Linked DNA regions of Homo sapiens: all the other regions are linked to region 5. Evidence: promoter capture Hi-C in 16 types of primary human blood cells and fetal thymus (Javierre and others, 2016). All regions are on one chromosome and are shown on one strand. Each heading gives the region's core, a stretch centred on a gene start or on the middle of the fragment in contact. The rest is flanking DNA. Distances are from core to core; before and after follow the strand shown.

The links. Contacts are between HindIII fragments. The CHiCAGO score rates a contact against its expected background, and 5 or more counts as called.
Region 1: a fragment that was not itself captured here is called in contact with the fragment with the promoter of GKN1 in region 5 in 5 of 17 cell types (M1 macrophages, megakaryocytes, M2 macrophages and 2 more); the score reaches 10.4 in M1 macrophages.
Region 2: a contact is called between a fragment that was not itself captured here and the fragment with the promoter of GKN1 in region 5, in 5 of 17 cell types (fetal thymus, total CD4 T cells, naive CD4 T cells and 2 more). The highest score is 5.9, in fetal thymus.
Region 3: the fragment with the promoter of PROKR1 here is called in contact with the fragment with the promoter of GKN1 in region 5 in 10 of 17 cell types (non-activated CD4 T cells, activated CD4 T cells, total B cells and 7 more); the score reaches 11.4 in non-activated CD4 T cells.
Region 4: a fragment that was not itself captured here is called in contact with the fragment with the promoter of GKN1 in region 5 in 5 of 17 cell types (activated CD4 T cells, naive CD4 T cells, non-activated CD4 T cells and 2 more); the score reaches 8.1 in activated CD4 T cells.
Region 6: a fragment that was not itself captured here is called in contact with the fragment with the promoter of GKN1 in region 5 in 4 of 17 cell types (M1 macrophages, M0 macrophages, endothelial precursors and 1 more); the score reaches 8.6 in M1 macrophages.
Region 7: a fragment that was not itself captured here is called in contact with the fragment with the promoter of GKN1 in region 5 in 1 of 17 cell types (M1 macrophages); the score reaches 6.2 in M1 macrophages.

What each region holds. Positions count from the first base shown.
Region 1 is chr2:69,294,823-69,298,069 of GRCh38, forward strand. No RefSeq gene overlaps it. Among named protein-coding and RNA genes, the nearest start is that of GFPT1, 91 kb to the right of the region's middle. The HindIII fragment of the contact is 8,338 bases long and covers 1-3,247 here.
Region 2 is chr2:68,689,761-68,693,136 of GRCh38, forward strand. No RefSeq gene overlaps it. Among named protein-coding and RNA genes, the nearest start is that of ARHGAP25, 43 kb to the right of the region's middle. The HindIII fragment of the contact is 3,397 bases long and covers 97-3,376 here.
Region 3 is chr2:68,641,911-68,645,038 of GRCh38, forward strand. PROKR1 (prokineticin receptor 1) reads left to right here and starts at 1,669. Exons shown (of 3, transcript NM_138964.4): 1 at 1,669-1,938. The HindIII fragment of the contact is 2,701 bases long and covers 1-2,301 here.
Region 4 is chr2:68,624,459-68,627,610 of GRCh38, forward strand. It overlaps the pseudogene LOC100379290. Among named protein-coding and RNA genes, the nearest start is that of PROKR1, 18 kb to the right of the region's middle. The HindIII fragment of the contact is 3,535 bases long and covers 1-3,152 here.
Region 5 is chr2:68,972,924-68,976,188 of GRCh38, forward strand. GKN1 (gastrokine 1) reads left to right here and starts at 1,713. Exons shown (of 6, transcript NM_019617.4): 1 at 1,713-1,766. The coding sequence starts at 1,755. The HindIII fragment of the contact is 2,059 bases long and covers 276-2,334 here.
Region 6 is chr2:69,314,253-69,317,340 of GRCh38, forward strand. No RefSeq gene overlaps it. Among named protein-coding and RNA genes, the nearest start is that of GFPT1, 71 kb to the right of the region's middle. The HindIII fragment of the contact is 2,794 bases long and covers 1-2,658 here.
Region 7 is chr2:69,243,969-69,247,290 of GRCh38, forward strand. It overlaps ANTXR1 (ANTXR cell adhesion molecule 1), which reads left to right. Exons shown (of 18, transcript NM_032208.3): 18 at 1,257-3,322. The coding sequence ends at 1,517. Among named protein-coding and RNA genes, the nearest start is that of GFPT1, 140 kb to the right of the region's middle. The HindIII fragment of the contact is 5,707 bases long and covers 1-3,322 here.

The sequences.
Region 1 (3,247 bases), core at 157-2,656, 320 kb after region 5:
CTGCATTGGAGAGTAAGGGTCAGGGAAACACACACCCCAATCTACTCATCTCCTTCCAGCACCCTCCTGCAGGGCTCCCCATTGGCTTGAACCCAACCACAGTCCAGAAGGTGAGAGAGCCATTGCTGACAGTCCTAAAGGTACTCCTCCTGGCACAGTGAGAAGAGCTGGGGGTGGCGGACCTCGAGGCAAACAGGAGGAAGCAGCACGCCCCACTCTTCCCACTGACTCTTCTCGCTTAGTTTTTGTCATACTGACTCTTCTGGAAAAATCGGAGTGCCTCAAATGCAACACATCCAAAATAAAACTCATCTCCTCCCATCAGACTCTCGCCCACATTCCCACTCTCCACTAACGGCAGGCACCTGTGACTTCTTCACGTCATTGACAGCCTTGCAGTAGAGACGTCTCCTGGGAGCTTGTTAGAAATGGGGACTCTCAGGCCCTACCCAGACCTACTGGATCAGAATCTGCATTCTAATACCACACCCAGGGGGCTTGTGCACATGTTAAAATCCAGAAGTGCTAGTTTACAGTACATTTCACAACCACTCCTCCTTTCCTTTTCACATTGTGTTAGCACATGCCAAAGTTAGAGGCTTAATATTAAAACAGAAAGAAGTGCTGGGCGCAGTGGCTCACGCCTGTAATCCCAACACTTTGGTACGCAGAGGCGGGCGGATCACCTGAGGTCAGGGGTTTGAGACTAGCCTGACCAACATGAAGAAACCCCATCTCTACTAAAAATACAAAATTAGCCGGGCGTGGTGGTGCATGCCTGTTAATCCCAGCTACTCGGGAGGCTGAGGCAGGAGAATTGCTTGAAACCAGCAGGCAGAGGTTGTGGTGAGCCGAGATCACACCATTGCACTCCAGCCTGGGCAACAAGAGCAAAACTCCATCTCAAAAAAAAGAAAGAAAGAAAGAATTACATGAATCGGGGCCTTGTGGAATCCTCCATAACCCCAATTTATTGCTTTGGACTTTGTCACAGGATGCTGCTTTAAGGATGCTGTGCTTGTAGACTTGACTTTGTGCCTTCTTATTGTTTTATGAAATCTATACCTATCCCCTCATTCCTTCTTTCCTTTATCCTTGGAGGATCATGAAAGGCACCTAGATTGCCCTTTTTGTGTAAAAAAGTAAAAGACTATGTTGAATATTCAAAATGAGAAGCCCATCATTTGAAAATGTTTCAGATGACATTTGCCATGTAGAAACACATCACCCTGTTCAATCGTGTCAGGATTTGTATCTGTCCAAGTGTCAGTTTCCTCATCTACAAAATGGGGAGATGATAGTAACTCCTTTATAAGTGTAAGGATTAAATGTGGCAAAATATGTAAAATATGCCCTCCAAATGGACAATGCTCAAATATTCATTGAATAAAAAAAGGAAGGTATTTAACATATCTGAGGTCAGGTGCGGTGGCTCACGCCTGTAATCCCAGCACTTTAGGAGGCCAAGGCAAGTGGATCACCTGAGGTCAGGCATTCAAGACCAGCCTGGCCAACATGGTGAAACCCTGTCTCTACTAAAAATACAAAAATTAGCCAGGAGGTGGAGGTTACAATGAGCAGAGGCTGTGCCACTGCACTCTAGCCTGAGCAACAGAGTAAGACTCCATCTCAAAAAAATAAAATATCTGAGCTTCAGTTTATGTAATGTAAATGTAAAATGAAGACTACAATACCAAGTTCAGTAAATGTTCATTCTTATACTCTCCCACAACCCACACACACGCTCACACACATGCACACACCTACACTCATGTGTGGACACACACACATGCATGCACACAGGCACACACATGAGCACAAACACACACATACACATGCATGCACACAATCAAAACCACATGCACATGCACTACACACAAAACAGCAGGAACTCTAGCTGCTTTCCCCTGGTGTCTCCTGCCGGGCTGCCTGCCCTCTGGAATTACTCTCCTGGATGGCCGCAGAGCCTCCACCCAGCACAGCCACCACTCTCCTGGTACCCCCCCAACCCTCTTTCCACACCAGCCACAGTGATCTTTCTAAAATACAACCCTGACTGTTTCATGCCTGCTTGAAACTCTCACACTGCAGCCAGGCCAAACCCATTCTGCACCCCCATACACATTACATCTCCGGCCTGGTACCCCCTCCTCTGAGCACCCACAGCAGGGGACACAAACCTCCGATGTCACCCTGTCTTTCTCCCTTTAGACTGCAAGGGTTGCTCCAGGGCAGGGACCTGCCACATCTGATTTTGTGGTGTCAGCGTCCACTACCCCGAAGGCCAGAGCACCGCCAGGGCTCCAGAAACGCTGTTGCTAAATGCTGGTTGCAGCAGAGCATGAGAGGTGCTGCCCTCGCACCCACCCAACCAAGGCAGCCCCAGGATCCCCAGCGCGCACAAGATACACGAGTTCCACCAGAAGGACCTCATCGCCTCCTGTTCCCAATGGCAAACCGAGCACCCAGACATTTTAGGCCTTGTCCTGGGAGTGTGGAACTGCGGCGCCAAGCACAGAACACATGGTGTGGTCCTCTCCAGATGCCGGCTCCTCTGTCTGCAGCAGCCCTTGAATGCCCCACCCAGAACTCCCTTGTTCAGCGCTCCGGCCGTGCCTGTGTCAGGAGGCTCCTGAGCAATGCCCAACCCCTCCCTGCTGATCCCACACACATTTTCCTTCTCCTTCCTTCAAAGCAAAAAAACAAATGCCCTTTCCAAAAGGCAGTAATGTAGCGTGAGGGTGGGGGTTGCTGGCCTAGAAATAAAGATCTAGACTCCCTTTCCCCAGACTGAGCACGGCCCCACAGGCAGCACCTCCTGGGCACCCCACAGAGGGTAGGTCTGACCGAGATGCCCTGTAGATGCCAGCATCACAGTGCCCCGTGAGTGAATGGGCAAAGAGGGTGAAATGAGCAGAGGTGGACGTGAGTCAAAGCAGGCTCTGTCATCACAGCTGCCTGAAGGAAGAGGCCACAGCCTCTCCTCTCCATCTGCCTTCTCTATAACAGGTCCCATCAATGCAAATGCTGTAACACCAACATCAAATTTACATTTACCTAGAGAAAGCCTGTTGCGGCCTGACACTGTGCAAGGGGATTGGGAGAGGGATAGAGGGAGGCTTCAAATACAAGACCTGACCAGGCTTCTGCCCTCAAATATCTGTGAGCTCTACCCAGGACTGGGCAGCAAAGTGGAGCTGAAAGAATTAGACAACAAGGCTTTCCCTGGTGAGGCTTCTGTCTCACT
Region 2 (3,376 bases), core at 545-3,044, 280 kb before region 5:
CTGCAAGTAGGTAAGAAGATAAATCATGGGTATGGTTTATTGTCAGTGTCCTAGGGTGACAGAGAATCAGTTTTGGGGAAAATAGGTTAATTACAAAGCTTTCCAGAAGACTTGTTCCTCAGAAACTAAATTACATATCTTCTTTTCCTGCTCCCAATCATTGCCTCTCATGCAGGATTAGGCCAAGCAGGTGGGAAGAGAACTGAATACTAGAGGGTCTTAGAGAAAATGAAGTTTAGCCAGTCATTCATAGAAGAGGAACTGAAACTTATTTCACAGAGAGGTTAAGCAACCTTCATTCTCCCTTTAGTGAAAGAGGCAAATATTCTTTAGAAACCCATGTGACAGCTTCGTTCTCTTGCAGCTGATTTTGAATCTTGCAGTTAATCATGATCTCTGGGCCATGGGCCTTATTGTCTTGAGGCTCTCATTTTACTGATTGATAAAGCAGAAAAACAGAGAAGTGGTGTGATGTGGCGAGAAAGTGCTAGCAGGAAATGAGATAGCTATTACCACCCAGGGCTCTCCTGTTTCTCTCTGCAAGACTCCTTTGGAAATCTTGCATTGCCTTCCCCTTTCTGAGTAATTCCGCGGGGCTTCATTTAGATTGTGCTCATTTGCATTAACTCTCATAACGAAGAGGTGTATTACCAACTGAAATGGAAAAAGGCCTGTGGTTACTTTGTGTCTTCTCTGCTGTCTCTGGTCTCTGGGACCAGAACTCATCCTCAGTACCGAGAGCCAAAGAGGAGCTGACCATGGATTAGATGAAATAAGGTACTGTGTACCTGACACCCAGGAAATAGTCAGTGTTTCTTACCTCCTAGTATTGTTGCAAAATGAAGCAGAATACAGTATATCTTTTGATTCAAAGGTGTCATTAGGCCTTATAACTATTAACCAATTAACAGGTTAATATTTTAGCTTGCACTTTTGCTTTAAAATCTGAATATTGCATGTTAATTTAAAATATGGTTTGTTAGGAGTGTGGTAGGAATATAACTTGTTTGAAATTGACATCAATGTCTAAAATGAAAAACCATGCATCCCAAAACATGGTGATTACCAGCGGAAGGTCAGGAAAACATGCTTCTCTTCTGCAGATGGAGGTACAATGAGGTGTTTGACAGGGGCTTATGTTCCCAACACACCTGGCCTGGACTCTGCATGGAGAAAAAGGTTTGTTCACTAGACTGAGATTTCGAAGGGTAGAGTATTTGTAGAGAGAAGCCAGGTCTCCAGTGTTGCTGGGTTTGGGGAAAGCCTGTAATGGATTCAGGTGTCCAGGTGAGAACAGCTTTCTGACAAATGTGCTGCTGAGGGTGATGTTCTCTCAGCACGTGGCCTGTGAGCTCTCAGTGATGCTCCAGCCAGCAGGAGTACACCAATAAGCCTGACTCTCTGCCAATAGCTGGGGCCAGAGGTCTCGTCCTCATTTTTCACTGGTACCTGGCAGGCAAAATTCCTATCCAGGAGGGAATGGTAGCTCTGGACAGTTGTATAAATATGCTATCAAAATTTGAGAGGCAGAAAGCAAATGACAGGAGGCCAGACCCTCCTTGGAGTCATCAGTCCACTCAAAGTCCCTAGACCCCTTGCTCAATAATTTCACTTTAGTCCACATAATTCCAAGAGGACTAACTAAGGTTTTCATTACAGTGGTCTCTTCTGGCAGTAAGGGTCTGCTCAAATAGCTCTAGTGGACAGAGGCCACAGACATCTGTTAGTGCCAACCTCAGAAAATCCCACTATAAGTTTCTGTTATATTTTTATTTTTTCAATGAAGCTCTTTACCTAGACACAAAGGTGATGGAGAAGTGTTTCCTCCCTATCAAAAAATACTTTGAATTTTTCAAAGAAATTTCATTTTCCTTGAACAATACAGACAAAATCAAATAATGCATAAGCACTCATAATCTCTGACCCTCCCTTTGCCCATAAAGAACATTCTGGAAATTCTAGCATTGTTAACTTGGTACTTCCCTTACACTATCCTATCCTTCCTACCTTCCTTCTCTCTCCTCTATTCTACTCTCCTTGGTGGTCATTTTTATTATTATGAGGTCTAGTTTATTGGACAAGAGGAGAAGTGTTAGCTAGAGAATTTATACTGGAAATGAAAGAAAAATTACAATAAATCTAGGAATGAGATGGAGTCCAGAAGAACCCAGTAGGATAGATTTCAGGGAGTATTAACTTAGGAGTTGAGAATGCAAAAGAGAATAGTCTCAAGTCACTTCCATCTACATGGAAGATATTGAGAAGGGATAAACTAGAAGAGAGGACAAGACATTTGACTATGGGTTGAGTAGGTGAATCCTTAAGAAATGGAATATGGCCGGGCATGGTGGCTCATGCCTGTAATCCTAGCACTTTGGGAGGCTGAGATGGGTGGATCATGAGGTCAAGAGATCGAGACCATCCTGGCTAACATGGTGAAACCCCGTCTCTACTAAAAATACAAAAGATTAGCTGGGTATGGTGGTGGGTGCCTGTAGTCCCAGCTACTCGGGAGGCTGAGGAAGAAGAATGGTGTGAACCTGGGAGGCGGAGCTTGCAGTGAGCTGAGATTGCACCACTGCACTCCAGCCTGGGCAACAGTGCAAGACTCCGTCTCAAAAAAAAAAAAAAAAGAGAGATGGAATGTAGTTGAATTATCTTAAATTGTTTTTAATGACTATTAAGTTGTCTGTTTTTCTTTAAGTCAGGAGGCATTATTTAGAGTTTATGCCACAGAGCAGAGGCAATTATAATATTCATGTTCTTCAAAAATAAAAACAGTGAAGCTATCTTTGCACCTATGCCAAAATCCTGCACTAAGAGAGAAGGTGCACTTCTTCCAATAAACAGATGTGTGACCAGTGCCAGTGTGGGCTGACTTCATCTCATCCTTCCAAATCTCTCATCTTAGGGAGCTGGGTGAATTGACTATTGTAGCTGCTCCTTCCTCCTGCAGTAACACTTCCCTTTTTGCTGCTGACAGTGCTTCAGAGGTACAGTCCTTTTCCAAGAACCACCGCCATGCCATTGCCACTGGTACCTCTCCTCACTCAACTCCTCTCCTGGTGGTGCTTTGAAGATGGCTGGAACTCTAGTCTTTACTCAGCTACTAAAGTTGGCTGTCTTCCAGCAGCCTTCCCAACTCCTGCTGAAAGAAGGAAAAAGGTAGAAAGGAACATGTGAGATGGTAGAGAGACGTGCACTGTTCAATGTAACTCCACATCTTCAGCAAATCCTGTTAAACTAAAAAAAAATGATGCTGACTTCTAAGTCCAGGTGAATGCACGACAGAGACAACACATGCAGATTCAGGAGCCATTGGCGGGGAATACCAGGAGAATAACTCCTGGAAATGCACAAAAATCATAAGGAGGGC
Region 3 (3,128 bases), core at 419-2,918, 330 kb before region 5:
CCAGGATCCTTAGTCCTTTAGAGATGGACTAAATGTCTGCCATCATTACAAAAGCATCTTGAACGTGATGGAGCTTATGCTGAGAGCTAAAGTTTATGTATTTTTATCTTTTAATTCCATTTTCCCACAAACTTTTGGAAGTTCCCATGTGAGTGTATGTGTGTATGTGGAGCATTTTGTTTGTCCCTTCATCATTGATGGACATTTGGATTGTTTCCATGTTTTCGCTATGGTGAATAATGCTGCTATGAACATGGATGTACAAACATGCCTTTGAGACCCTGTGTATTAGTTCACTTGCACACTGCTGATAAAGACATACCGGAAACTGGGAACAAAAGGAGGTTTAATTGGACTTACAGTTCCACATGACTGGGGAGGCCTCAGAATCAAGGCAGGAGGTGAAAGGCATTCCTTACGTGGTAGCATCAAGAGGAAACTGAGGGAGAAGCAAAAGTGGAAACCCCTGATAAACCCACAGGATCTCGTCAGGCTTATTCACTATCACGAGAATAGCATGGGAAAAACAGGCTCCCATGATTCAATTACCTTCCCCTGGGTCCCTCCCACAATACGTGGGAATTCTGGGAGATACAATTCAAGTTGAGATTTGGGTGGGGACACAGCCAAACCGTATCACCCTGCTTTTAATTTTTTGGGTTAGACACCCGGAAGTGGAAACACTCGATCATATGGTAATTGTATTTTTTAACTTTTTGAGGAAACCCTATACTGTTTTCTACAGTGGCTTCACCATTTTACTTTCCTACCGACAGTGCACAGGGTTCCAGTTTCTCCACATTCTCACCAACACTTGTTATCATTTCTTTTTACAGCTGGATAATATTCTATTGCATGTATATACTATATGTATTTTGTTAATCCACTTAGCTGATGGACATTTGGGTTGTTTCTGTCTTTTGGCTACTGTGAATAGTGCTGCCATGAACATCAGTGTATGTGTGTCCCTGCTTTCAATAGTTTGGGGTTACATACCTTGGAGTGGGATTGCGGGACTATATGCCTCACGTTTTGAGGAATCTATGGGCTTGTAAAGGTAGACTGTGCTCTGTAAGTCAGCGCTGTCCGTCCCAGCCTTCTAAGCAGACATCCCTGGGCGGGGGTCCTTCCTCTCTCCAGTGTGCTACCCCGCCCCCTTGTTTGCTCTCCAGAAAGCACTTCTCTGAGCCTCTTTTACGGAGAGGTAGGGCAGCTGGCAACAAAGATGGCCCTGGTGTCCGTTCAGGCTGGCCCAGGGGACCAGGTTGGGGCCGGCCCCTGAGTGTCCCCTGAGGAGGTGTGTGAGCAGCGGGGGAGGCTCCTCGGTCCTTTGCAAGCTCGCGGCTGAGCGGGGCCGTGTCCGTCCACTCCGACGGCGCTGGGCTGCCAAGGTGAGCCGCCGAGGAGCCCCGTGCCCCGAGGCGGGCACAGCCGCCCTGCATGGGTGCCCCCGGCGCGGGATTGACGCAGAGCCCTGCCCGGAGCCCCAGCGACCCCGTTCCTGCCCCAGGCGGCCGTTCCGAAGCCTGAGCCGGGCAACGCGCAGCCCGCCTGGCCCGGCTCCCTCCCGCGCGTCCTCGTCGCGAGCTGCCGCCTGGGAGCTCCAGACGCTCCCGCCCAGGGCGATCCGGACGCTCCCGCCCAGGGCGATCCCGGCCTCTGCAGCCCAGCTGGCGACACGCCTCGCCAAGAGCCCGCACCTCGGCGCCTCACGGCCACCGGAGGCGGGGACAGGGAGTCCGGCGCGGGCCGGGTCGGGGGATCTGCAGCGGCGGCGCGAAGGTAACTCCCCCGCCAGAGCCGGGAAAGAGCCCCGAGCAGAGGAGGAAGGGAGCGGGGACCTGCCCTTCGCCTGCCGGCTTCTGGAAGAAGCGTCTCCTGATCCGGCCCCGGAATAAGAAACCCGGACCTTGCCTGCCGGGCTCCGCGATGCCGCAGGTACAGAGCGCGCCCTCCCGGGGAGGATGCTCCAGGGACCCCGCGCTGCACTGGCTGCGGCCGTGGGGTGCGGCGGCTTCTGAGTGAAGAGGGGACTTTGCCAGGGATTCACTCCTGTGAGTTTCTTCAGGAGAGCCAGGCTTCCCCTCCTCTGTCCTTAGGGGAAGCTGCCCAGGCTCCAGGGAGAAAGTTGGGAGCAGGCGGGGGACTTGCCAGCAGGGGTTTGTGAGAGAGGCTTCTAGCGATCGAGAGGTCACCAGGTGGGGGTAGGATTGGGGTTCCCCTCTGAACGGTGAGAATAAAGGAGAAAAGACCTCTGGACAATCATCCTTAATCTCGTGACGCCCTCCTCTCCACCCCCGAAGCTTCTGTATTCTTTGCTTTTAAACACTACTTTGACCCTTCAGGTAGCATGCTTGTAGGGGTACCCCTCCAGGAGTGGCATGCCTCTGCGACCCACGGGACCTGCAAGGAGTGGGGCTTGTCCCGCCTGGGTTCCAAGCCTGCCCCCCTCCTTCTTTTCAGCTGAGTTCTGCCTCTCCTCCCTGAGTGGGCAGAGGGCAAGGGCTGAGCCAGACAGAATTGAGAGCTCGGAGGAAGGAAAAAATCAGGGTAAGGAGTTAGGACAGAGAGGCAGCAATGGGGCTGAGCCTCACTGGGGCGCAGAGGGACTTTAAACTTGGCCCCAAGAAGACAGGCTCCAGATGTTTTGCCTCGGAGGAATATGGAGAGCAGGCTTTCCTGGGGGTGGGGAGGTGGGGTCCTGGGCATCTTCCTCATCTTCCTTTCCCAGGAAAACTCTGGCTTGCATTCTTCCCTCTGTTCTCCTGACATTTGTTTTAGGGTGCTCTCCAGACCTCAGCCCTCCTTCTACGTCCCACTCCCTGGTCTGATGTCTTCAGGGTTTGGGAGGGACTGCAGGGAGAGAGCAGGGGACAGGGGGACTCTGGCTGCCTCCCTGTCCCCACCAGGGCAGCTGACACCCCCCTAGACCCCTCACCCCAGCCCCATTATGTGGTGTGGTGGAGTCCCTGTATCAGGATTTCGCTCCCCTTCCTTGCAGCTGACAGAGGAGGCCTGAGAGCGCAGTAGTAACTCCTTGCAGTTCTAGGGTGTAACACTCTCCTCCAGGGAGCTCCAGGCTGTGCAGACATTATTGATCTCCTGCCTGGCAGAAGTTGAACCTCTGA
Region 4 (3,152 bases), core at 408-2,907, 350 kb before region 5:
TTTTTGACAAATGCCCCCCTGGTTAGCAGCTTTAGCTTTAACAGTAGGTAAGTATTGAGTCAAGTAAGATAAAGATAAGGCTTTCAAGCAGTCTTCCAGGAAGTCACCAGATAGGTTACATAATGACAAATTTTTTGTGAATACAGTTAATCCACTTCCAGTGGTGCTGGGAATATAGGCTATTATTTCCAAGACTACTGCTGGGCCTGGGAGAAGGGCTTGCACTAGGGTAAATTGAAACCCCACAATGCTTGTTGTTCTTACAGTTTTGTTTTGTTTTTTTTTTTTTCCGAGACGGAGTCTCACTCTGTCACCAGGCTGGAGTGCAGTGGTGCCATCTCAGCTCACTACAACCTCCGCCTCCTGGGTTCAAGCGATTCTCCTGCCTCAGCCTTCTGAGTAGCTGGGACTATGCCACATGCCACCACACCTGGTTAGTTTTTGTATTTTTAGTAGAGACGGGGTTTCACCATGTTAGCCAGGATGGTCTCGATCTCTTGACCTTGTGATCCACCTGCCTTGGCCTCCCAAAGTGCTGGGATTACAGGTGTGAGCCACCACGCCTGGCCCTTACCTAGTTTTTTTTGAATAAGTTCTTATATTACTCAATCTCTGGCTAATTTCCAGAGTTCCAAAAAAGTTAATGTTGAAAGATTTTGACAGTTTATTTTTTGTTGCTTTCATAGGGGGCAAAACTCCTGAGTTTCTTACTCTGCCATTTTTCCTGATGTTCTATTTAATCTTGAATAATCATACTCACACTGGATTTTTGAGGATGTTCTGCAGTATTTCAAACACTTTCATATCCATCTTCTCATTTTATTCTTATAGTAAACTTTGTAGCTGAGAAGTAAACATCCCTTTTATGGAGGAGAAATGTAAGGTGTCCTGCAGGCAGTTACTCTGTCTTCTGTGTGCCCCAGCTTCTCTATCATATCATCCCATTAATTTAGATTAATTTTTTATAGCTAGACAATAAACTCCAAACAGAATAGATAATGTTATTGTCTCCTTGAGACCAAGCACATAGCATAGCTTTTATTCTAGAACAGAGTACATGTTTTGGAATTTAAAAATGAATAAAAAATAAAGTTTAATGTTTAAGACCTCTTTCCTGATGAAATAATTTGTGTCCTGCAGTGTTAGACCTGAAAGTGTCCTCAGGGGCTACATGGGGAGGAAATAGATTGCACAGGACTTAGCTTCCTATCTCAATGTTTCAACAGAACCATTCCCCCTTTAGTCATCTCTCTCCTAATGTTCATTTGACAAATATTAATGGAGCTCCTACTATGAGTCTGGCCTGATAAAAGAAGTTACAAAGAGAAATTAGGAAAGCAGAGACCTTGTCATGGAATTTACATTGATGAGAGAGAAAATAAAAATGAAAAAACATATAATTTCAAGTGGAAATAAATGATAAAAAAATAAAGCAGAACAAGGTAGGAAGGCACTGGGGAACACAAAATGATTTTAGATAGGGTTATCAGAGGTGTCCTCTCTGAGGTGATATTTAAGCAAAGATATGAATGAAATGAAGGTCAGGTCATCTGAAGATATGGGGGAAATGTTCCAAGCAGGGGAAGCAGCAGGTGGCAAGACCCTGAGTTGGGAGTGAGTTAGCATGATTCAGGAATGACAAGACCACAGTGGCAGAGGTGGGATGAACAAGGGCAGAGTGCCATAGGAGAGAGTGGTAGAGATCAACATGGTGGGGCCATGCCGTATTTTGCAAGTCAGTGCTGCTACGTTAGATTTGTCTTGAACAAATAGTATTTTGGCTAAAGTAAAAGTTTGAAAAGCACAAATTTTATGTTAAAATTTATTATTATATATTTACTTGCTCCTTCCTTCCCTTTCTCCTTGTCTCCCTCCCTCTCACCTTTCCTTCCTTCCTCCCTCCCTTCCTCCCTCCTTCCCTCCCTCCCTTCCTTCCTTCTTTCCTTCCTTCCTTCTTTCCTTCCTTCCCTCCCTCCCTCCCTCCCTTCTGTTCTTTTCTTTCTTTTTATTTATCTTCCCTACCAACAGAGTCTAGATCATGTCTTCTTTACCTGTGATTAACACAGGACCTGGCACATAGAGGGTAATCAAATGATATTTTTCTGAATGAGTGAGAAAATTGAGACCCAGAGAGGCCAAGTAGCATTTTTAAGGCCACCCAGATAGTGACAGAACAAAATCCAGATTTGTGTTTAGCTCATCTTCTGTCACTTTACCACATCAGTTGCATGGAATTAAAAACAGATCCAAAGATTTTATAATTAGTGTATGTGGTTTGTTTTCTGTTACTGACTCCAAGTATAATCTAGTCACACAATCACACGGCTAAGACATTAGTGAAAGACGATTATTGTTTCATTGGGTTAAGGAGAAAGGTTTCCTGGTGACAGTTAGCATCAAAGATATACTGTGTTATAAAGAACCACAGGGTGTGATTGAGGTAGGATGGAGGAGGGACTGCTCTATTGGTACAGTGTCCTGTATCAGGGAGGGATAGTTTGGTTGCAGTCTTTCCTTAATTAGAGGAGGAGAGATAAGGGGAAAATATCATCAAGAAAATGAAAAGTTTTCAAAGTAGAAAATGCCACATTTTCTACTTTGCAGATGCAAAGGCCAGGAAGCAGACAGAGTCAGAAAACAAATTGTCTAGAATGACCCATAGTGCTCTGGAGTACTTTAATGTGATTGGCCAAGGCTTGAAGCATCTCTTCTGGCAGCAGCCCAAGAAGTCATCCATGTCTCCATGTGATGTGCAGAAAATTCAGGCAGATCCAGAACCTGAAATAGATCTGGAAAGCCAGAACACATGTGCTGAGACTGAGAGTAGCCCCACCTCCCACCCCACAGCTCTGAATCAGTTCCTGCAACAAATCCAAGTACCATTCAAGATGAAGACAAGACAAATTTTTATGGCAGGCAGGGCAAGCCAGAGGCCTCAAAGGAAAGTCTCAAAATCAGTAGGGTATACGGCCAGGATATGGCAGCTATCAAGCAGTCAAGCCAACCTAGGTTTTCTTCATCTGTGACTAATGCTCCTACCAGCTCAGCTGTGGTGGAAATAGCTTGTGCTGCTGCTACATGTCAATCAGGAGAGGAGGCAACTGCAGAATAGATGGAGCATTTGGAAGTAAGCACTCTTGCTCAGATCTCTA
Region 5 (3,265 bases), core at 463-2,962:
GCACTGCACCTGTGTACCAAGATGACTACTGGTGGCTGAGTTTAAACGTAGAGACCATGCTACCCACTCATTGACTTCTCAGTGACATGAAGTTTCCTAAAGCAGATGAAGGCCTCTTCACACATGTCTGCCCCTTACTCCAGGCTTATTACCTTCTGTGGATAAAGAGTGAGTTTGAAAGAAATCAGTGGACACATTAAAAAATATCCAGTAATACTGCAGCTGTTCTAATCCACTCCTACCAACAGTTTTGAAGAGATGTTGATAGCGAATCAAGCTTTATAACCATGTGATCCCATCTTATGGTTTCAATCCATGCACAGGAGGAAAATTGTGGGCACGAAGTTTCCAAAGGGAAAATTTATAGATTGGTAGTTAATGAAATACAGTTTTCCTCCTTGGCAAATTTAATTTACTAGCTTCACTGTATAGGAAAAAGCAGGAAAAAAATTAAAACCAACTCACCTCCAAACCTGTTTTGAGCTTTTACTTGTCTGCCCAATTGATAGTTTCTACTCTCTGCTTTTGATGAAAATATTTTTTATTATTTTAATGTAACTTCTGAAAACTAAATTATCTAGAAGCAAATAAAAAGATATTGCTTTTATAGTTCCCAGAAGGAAAAAACAAACACTAGGAAAGTTCTATCTATCAGATGGGGGAGATGTGATGGAGGCAGTGATATTTGAGCTGAGCCTTGAACAATGAACAGGAGTCTACCAAGCGAGAGGCTAGCGGGTGGCCCTCCAAGATAAAACAACAGCATGTACAAAGGCATGGAGACATACACATCTTGACTTTTCCAGGAATGGTGGGAACGCTGGTGGAGCTAGAATGTAGGTACATAGCATAAAGTGGCAGACGGGAAGCCTTTGGAAATCTTATTACATAGGACCCTGGATGCCATTCCAATGACTTTGAATTTTCTGTAGGCTGCCAGCGAAATTTCCAAGCGTGATAGAGTCATGTCTATCTATGCACTTCAGAAAGACAACCTCAGGGTTAATGAAGAAAATGCATTGGAATATAAGAAACTGGTGACCAGAGTGATCAATTGCATGACTGTTGTGAAAGTCCAGGTGAGGGGAGCTGTGGGCAAGGTCAGAGTTGAGAGGCATTTCAGAGATAAAATGACAGTAACTAAGTAGATGTCAGACTGAGAAGAAAGGGCTGTACCAGATATATGGTGCTATCATTAAGTGAGCTCAACATTGCAGAAAAGGGGTAGGTTTGGTGGGAGTTGCTCACAAAACATGTTTAGTCTAAGCAAAACCATTGCCATGGGCTCAGATAAAAGTTAAGAAGTGGAAACCATTCCTACATTCCTATAGGAGCTGCTATCTGGAAGGCCTAGTATACACGTGGCTTTTCAGCTGTGATTTTGTTTGATTTTAGGGATTATTCTTTTTCTGAATCTGAGCAATGTTAGCGTGTAAAATACTCACGCCCACAGCTTTGACTGGGTGAGAAGTTATCATAAATCATATTGAGTTTGTTGTGATACCTTCAGCTTCAACAAGTGATGAGTCAGGTCAACTCCATGTGAAAGTTCCTTGCTAAGCATGCAGATATTCTGAAAGGTTTCCTGGTACACTGGCTCATGGCACAGATAGGAGAAATTGAGGAAGGTAAGTCTTTGACCCCACCTGATAACACCTAGTTTGAGTCAACCTGGTTAAGTACAAATATGAGAAGGCTTCTCATTCAGGTCCATGCTTGCCTACTCCTCTGTCCACTGCTTTCGTGAAGACAAGATGAAGTTCACAGTGAGTAGATTTTTCCTTTTGAATTTACCACCAAATGATTGGAGACTGTCAATATTCTGAGATTTAGGAGGTCTGCTTCTTATGGCCCCATCATGGAAAATTTGTTTTAAAAAAATTCTCTCTTCAAACACATGGACACAGAGAGGGGAACAACACACACTAGGTCCTGTTGGGGGGTGGAGAGTGAGGGGAGGGAACTTAGAGGACAGGTCAATAGGGGCAGCAAACCACCATGGCACACATATACCTATGTAACAAACCTGCACGTTCTGCACATGTATCCCTTTTTTTTAGAAGAAGAAATAATGAAAAAAAATCTTTTTTCTATTTATATAATCATGGCATTTATAAGCATCTCTATAGAGAAGGATAATTGTGCTGAGATTAGACAGCTGTCTGAGCACCTCACACTGACCTATTTTTAACAAAATGACTTTCCGCATCACCTGATTCCGGTCTCCATGCAGGGTAAGCAGTTCCTAAGCCCTAGAAAGTGCCGATCATCCCTCATTCTTGAATTCCTCCTTTTATTTACCAAAATTCCTGAGCATGTTCAGGAAAGATGAAAAGCTTATTATCAAAATAAGTGGCTGAGATAGACTTCTTGTCACATTTGTTACAGTAAAATGGGTCTCCAAGAAAGAAAGATTTGCCTTGGGCTCTAGCATGGCCATTTATTTAAGAAAGCATCTGAAACATGAAGCTACCACAGCATCTCTCCTGTGGTTCCAGACAGAAGCCTGAGAGTCTAGGAGGAGGTGGACCGAGAAACCCTGCCAAAGTAACTAGTAGTGCCGGGTTTCTCACAACACGATGCAAAGGGGCTAGAATCAGATGACTATTTTCATGTTTCAACATACTACACACTGGAAAACGTTACGGCAGACTCTACTTTATAATGGGGCTGCAAATGTAAAATGACTACCTAGAACTAGGTCCTCTTAATAGCAGCAAAGTTTAAAAGGGTCAGAGGGAGCTCCAGACACAGGTTAGATTTGATTTCTCTCCTAGTTCTGCTGTGAACAAGAGGTATAAGTTTGGCCAACTCACTTAACCCCTGAAGCTCAGTTACCTTATCTGTAAAATGATTGCATTGTACTAGGTGTTCTCTAAAATTTCTTCTACCTCTGACTTTTTAGGAGACTAATTTTTAACTCCTTTTTAAGCTATTGGGAGAAAAATTTAATTTTTTTTCAAAAGTTACCTTGAATCTCTAGAGCAGTTCTCAAAACTATTTTGTCCCAGGCAAAGGAAATGAGACTAGGTACCCAGAATGAGGCACCCTGCATAAAGCTCTGTGCTCTGAAAACCAATGTCAGGGACCCTGTGATAAATAATTAAACCAAGTATCCTGGGACACTGCTAGTGACATCGCCTCTGCTGATCACTCTTGCCAGCGAGACACTCTATACTTGCTTTCTCATCATTGGCATCCAAACTGCCTACTAATCCATTGCTTTGGAAAGTTTTTTTTAATAAAAAGATTATTTCTATTAGGA
Region 6 (3,088 bases), core at 12-2,511, 340 kb after region 5:
TACAATACGAAAAAGAGAATGAAAAGACAGGTCACAAAGGGGAGAACATATTTGCAATACACAACAAAGAACTAGAATTCAGAATATGTAAAAAACCCCTCCAAGTTAAAAAGTAAACAATAAATCATCCAATTTTTAAAAACTGATTTTAAAAAGATTTGATCAGATTCATCACCAAAAAAAGCAGTCAATACACATATGAAAAGATGCTCAAATCATTAATAATCAAGGAAATATAGGCCAGGCACAGTGGCTCACGCCTGTAATCCCAGCACTTTGGGAGGCTGAGGTGGGCGGATCATGAGGTCAGGAGATCGAGACCATCCTTGCTAAAATGGTGAAACCCCGTCTCTACTAAAAATACAAACTATCAGCTGGGCGTGGTGGCGCTCACCTGTAGTCTCAGCTACTCGGGAGGCTGAGGCAAGAGAATCGCTTGAACCCGGGAGGCAGAGGTTGCAGTGAGCCGAGATGGCGCCACTGCACTCCAGCCTGGGTGACAGAGCAAGACTCCATCTCCAAAAAAAGAAAAAAAGGAAATATAAATTAAAACCATAATGAGAGACAAAGATTTATTCACCATTTGGCAAAAGTGTTAAATGCAATACCTGTTGAATTGAAACTTTTATCATTTGATGGTAACAATTTTTGTCTCTAGTAATGCTTTTTTAAACTTTTTTTGGGACAGGGTCTTGCTCTGTTACCCAGGCTGGAGTGCAGTGGTACAATCATAGCTCACTGTAGACTCAAGCTCCTGGCACAAGTGATCCTTCTACCTCAGCCTCCTGAGTAGCTGGGACCACAGATGCACCACCACACCCAGTTAAGGGTTTTGGTTTTTTGTTTGTTTTGTAGACACAGGAACTCACTATGTGGCCCAGGCTGGTATAAACTCCTGAGCTCAAGTGATCCTCCAGCCTCAGCATCCCAAAGTGCTTGGATTACAGGCACGAGCCACTACATCCAGTCTTAAACTGTTTTTATTGTGGTAAAATACATATAACATAAAATTTGCCATTTTAACCATTCTTCAGTGTACAATCCAGTGGCACTAATTACATTCACAATGTTGTGCAATGATCACCACTATCCATCTTCAAAAGTTTTCATCACCCAAAATGGAAACTCTGTATCTATTAAGCAATAACTCCCCATTTTTTCCTCTTTCAAGCCTCTGGTAATCTCTAATTTACTTTCTGTCTCTATGAATTTGCCTATTGTAGATATTTTATATAAATGGAATCATATAATATTTGTTCGTTAATGTCTGGCTTATTTTGCTTATGTTTTCAAGGTTCAGCTATGATTTGGAGTGTATCAGGACTTCATTCCTCTTTATGACTCAGTAGTATTCCATTGTGTGTATATATCACATTTCCTTTATTCATTCGTTGATGGACACTTGGGTTGTTTCCGCCTTTTGGCTGTTATAAGTAATCCTGATATAAACATTGGTGTACAAGTACCTGAGTTTCTGTTTTCAGTTCTATTGGGTATATACCTAGGAGTGGAACTGCTGGTTCGTATGGTAATTCCATGTTTAACTTTTTGAGAAGCTACCAAACTTTTCCATGGAAGACGCACTATTTTCAAATAAGTCATTTTCACTTACAGTCTATCTTGTCATATTCATGTAGCTTGCCATCTTTCCTTGGGTTGGGATTTGCCTGGTGTACCTTTTTCCAGCCTTTCACATTCAACTTTTCTGTGTCCCTGTGTTTTAGATGTCTTCTATACTTGTTGTGATTATTACCAATGTACTTGGATTTCCTAAATTCCATTTTTTTTCTTCTGTTACTTTGGGAACTATATTCTCTAATCTTAGTTTTCATAAAAGTTTAAATATCCATATTTAACTTCACAAAGTCAGAAGTTATCTTTACCCTCTTGCCACATCATAAAAAGAGCCTTATGTTTTAACCCTGCTCATCTACTCCTAAGTTACAATATTATTGTCTAGCATTTTAGTTCATTATGGATTGTTTTATAGCTCCTAAAATATTACTGTTTTAGACCGTTAGTGCTTTAGATTTACCCTCACTTAAAAGTGTTTTGTTTTGTTTCGCTCACCATTCTTTTTTATTTTTTAAAGAGATGGGATCTTGCTATGTTGCTCAGGCTGGAGTGCAGTGGCTATTCACAGGCATGATCATAGTCCACTACAGCCTTGAACTCCTTGGCTTAAGTGATCCTGCTGCCTCAGCCTCCTGAGTAACTGGGACTACAGGTATGTGCCACCACACCCAGCCACCATTCATTATGTTGTATCTTAAGCCTTTGTGGGATCATTTTCCATCACCTTAGCATTTATCTTTGGAAGATTTTAGTGAGAGTCCCAGTTTTTATTCATCAGATAGCACATTTTTCCCATCAGTCTTCAAATTCAGTTTCATGAATTATTTTTTCAGCACTTTGAAATAGTTCCATTGTCCTTGTTTCCACTGGTGCAGTTGGGAAATAAGCTGTCAGTCTAATTATTGACTTTTTGTGGGTAGTCTTATCTCTCTGGCTTTTTAGATCTCTTCATCTTTTGTGTTCAGTTTCAAAACAATGTGTTTAAGAATGCAATTTCCTTTTATCAGCTTAAGATGTGTGAAGCACTCTAAATTCTAGGATTTGCCTTTAATCTGGTCTAGAAAATTCTCTAAAAAGTCAAGAAGCTTTGACTTTTCTCATTTTCTATCACTCTCTATAGTAAATGCTGCATTCTGGATTATTTCTTCAGACCTATCTTTTTGTTCACTAATTCTCTCTTCAGCTGGGCCTAATCTGTTTATCCATTCTAATTTCAATTGTTATATTTCATTTTCAGTCCTTCCTGAAATCTGCCTTGTCCTTCTTTATTGTCTTATTCCTTTGTCATACATTTGATTCCTCTTACTGCTTCTGATACAGTCAGCCCTTTGTACCCATGGGTTCTACATCCATGGACTCAACCAACCATGGATCCAAAATATTTGTTTAAAAAGATATATAAAATTACAACAATAAAAAATACCAATTTTAAAATACAATACAACTATTTACACAGCATTTACATTATATTGGGTGGTCTGTTTTGTTTAGAGACATGGTCTTGTTCTGTCGT
Region 7 (3,322 bases), core at 441-2,940, 270 kb after region 5:
GGGTGGGTACCCACCCAGGCAAGTGGCCAAGCGAAGAGAGCTCACGCCAGCATGGAACATGGTGAGCAGGAGAACCCCTGTCTCCCCTCCGTTGCAGAGCTGAGTGTTGCACAGAAGTTCCTGAGTACCAGATGAGACTAGTGGGTATCTACTGGGGGACAGAGAAAGCATGCCTGTGACTCTGGAGAGCAGAGCAGATACTATAGGGGAGACAGGGCTACTTAAGGCTGGCTTTGGACGCTGACTTTCAGGAGGCTGCTTTAAGGGGTTCCAGGGTCTTCTCTGCATTGTTCAGTTGAGTACCCAAGAAGGGTAGGAGAAAAGCAGAATTCAGGGCAGATGCCTGCTTGGCAATAGAATGTCCCCAGGTTGTATTTCTTAAGGTACACAGGTTGTCAGTTCCTGTGACAACAACTAAGGCTACCTGCACAGGTGCAGCCGCGTGTAGAAGAGGGATTCCCACAGCCAGAACAAGGGCAGGACAAACTGTTTATTATTTACTAGCACTTTGGAGAAGGCAAGGCGTGGATGAGGAAGCTGTATTGATCACATCAGTAGAGATAGCTGCCTCCTTCATTCATTACCGGGAACAAGTGTTTGAGGGGGCACAGACGAGGTAAATGCATCAGGGCCTCCATGACAACTCCAATCACAGAATCTAGCTACATCCTTGAATTACAATATAGGAGAAGCTCGTGGTGTTAACCTTCTGCCATTTCCAGGCATGTAACTGAACTAATCAAAATAAATTACTTTTGTTTATGAAATATGAGGATCCCTTCCAGAAGGCAAAGTAGCAGCAGGAAGAATAATTCTGGAGTCTATTTTGGGTTAGAATCACCAACCCCATCTCTTCCTAGTTGTGTGGCCTTGAAAAAGTAACTCCGCTTTTCTGAACCTCTGCTTCCTCATCTGTGCAGTGGAACAGCTAATAATACCCGGTTAGCAGGGCTGTTGAGGAGATTCAGTTTAATGACCTCTGTACACAGCACCCAGTTAAGGTCAGTCTCATTCCCTTTCTCCCACTTGAGAGAGTTAGACTCCAGGAAAAGATGAATTTTAACAGTTTTGCAACACAGTCCAGGAAAAGGAAGTGGGGAGCTCACTTGTCCTCAAGTTCTACTATGTGCCACTAGAGAGTTGTCACCAACAGGGGCCAGCTTTCCACATATTGCTTGCAAGCCGCCCACCACAGCACCACAGGCCCTGATGTGAGGCCGTCCGCTCACGTTTCCTTCTCTCCAATTCTTTTCTAGGGGCGCTGCATCAACTTCACCAGGGTCAAGAACAACCAGCCAGCCAAGTACCCACTCAACAACGCCTACCACACCTCCTCGCCGCCTCCTGCCCCCATCTACACTCCCCCACCTCCTGCGCCCCACTGCCCTCCCCCGCCCCCCAGCGCCCCTACCCCTCCCATCCCGTCCCCACCTTCCACCCTTCCCCCTCCTCCCCAGGCTCCACCTCCCAACAGGGCACCTCCTCCCTCCCGCCCTCCTCCAAGGCCTTCTGTCTAGAGCCCAAAGTTCCTGCTCTGGGCTCTCTCAGAAACTTCAGGAGATGTTAGAACAAGTCTTTCCAGTTAGAGAAGAGGAGTGGTGATAAAGCCCACTGACCTTCACACATTCTAAAAATTGGTTGGCAATGCCAGTATACCAACAATCATGATCAGCTGAAAGAAACAGATATTTTAAATTGCCAGAAAACAAATGATGAGGCAACTACAGTCAGATTTATAGCCAGCCATCTATCACCTCTAGAAGGTTCCAGAGACAGTGAAACTGCAAGATGCTCTCAACAGGATTATGTCTCATGGAGACCAGTAAGAAAATCATTTATCTGAAGGTGAAATGCAGAGTTGGATAAGAAATACATTGCTGGGTTTCTAAAATGCTGCCTTCCTGCCTCTACTCCACCTCCATCCCTGGACTTTGGACCCTTGGCCTAGGAGCCTAAGGACCTTCACCCCTGTGCACCACCCAAGAAAGAGGAAAACTTTGCCTACAACTTTGGAAATGCTGGGGTCCCTGGTGTGGTAAGAAACTCAACATCAGACGGGTATGCAGAAGGATGTTCTTCTGGGATTTGCAGGTACATAAAAAATGTATGGCATCTTTTCCTTGCAAATTCTTCCAGTTTCCAAGTGAGAAGGGGAGCAGGTGTTTACTGATGGAAAAGGTATGTTGCTATGTTGATGTGTAAGTGAAATCAGTTGTGTGCAATAGACAGGGGCGTATTCATGGGAGCATCAGCCAGTTTCTAAAACCCACAGGCCATCAGCAGCTAGAGGTGGCTGGCTTTGGCCAGACATGGACCCTAAATCAACAGACAATGGCATTGTCGAAGAGCAACCTGTTAATGAATCATGTTAAAAATCAAGGTTTGGCTTCAGTTTAAATCACTTGAGGTATGAAGTTTATCCTGTTTTCCAGAGATAAACATAAGTTGATCTTCCCAAAATACCATCATTAGGACCTATCACACAATATCACTAGTTTTTTTTGTTTGTTTGTTTTTTGTTTTTTTTCTTGGTAAAGCCATGCACCACAGACTTCTGGGCAGAGCTGAGAGACAATGGTCCTGACATAATAAGGATCTTTGATTAACCCCCATAAGGCATGTGTGTGTATACAAATATACTTCTCTTTGGCTTTTCGACATAGAACCTCAGCTGTTAACCAAGGGGAAATACATCAGATCTGCAACACAGAAATGCTCTGCCTGAAATTTCCACCATGCCTAGGACTCACCCCATTTATCCAGGTCTTTCTGGATCTGTTTAATCAATAAGCCCTATAATCACTTGCTAAACACTGGGCTTCATCACCCAGGGATAAAAACAGAGATCATTGTCTTGGACCTCCTGCATCAGCCTATTCAAAATTATCTCTCTCTCTAGCTTTCCACAAATCCTAAAATTCCTGTCCCAAGCCACCCAAATTCTCAGATCTTTTCTGGAACAAGGCAGAATATAAAATAAATATACATTTAGTGGCTTGGGCTATGGTCTCCAAAGATCCTTCAAAAATACATCAAGCCAGCTTCATTCACTCACTTTACTTAGAACAGAGATATAAGGGCCTGGGATGCATTTATTTTATCAATACCAATTTTTGTGGCCATGGCAGACATTGCTAATCAATCACAGCACTATTTCCTATTAAGCCCACTGATTTCTTCACAATCCTTCTCAAATTACAATTCCAAAGAGCCGCCACTCAACAGTCAGATGAACCCAACAGTCAGATGAGAGAAATGAACCCTACTTGCTATCTCTATCTTAGAAAGCAAAAACAAACAGGAGTTTCCAGGGAGAATGGGA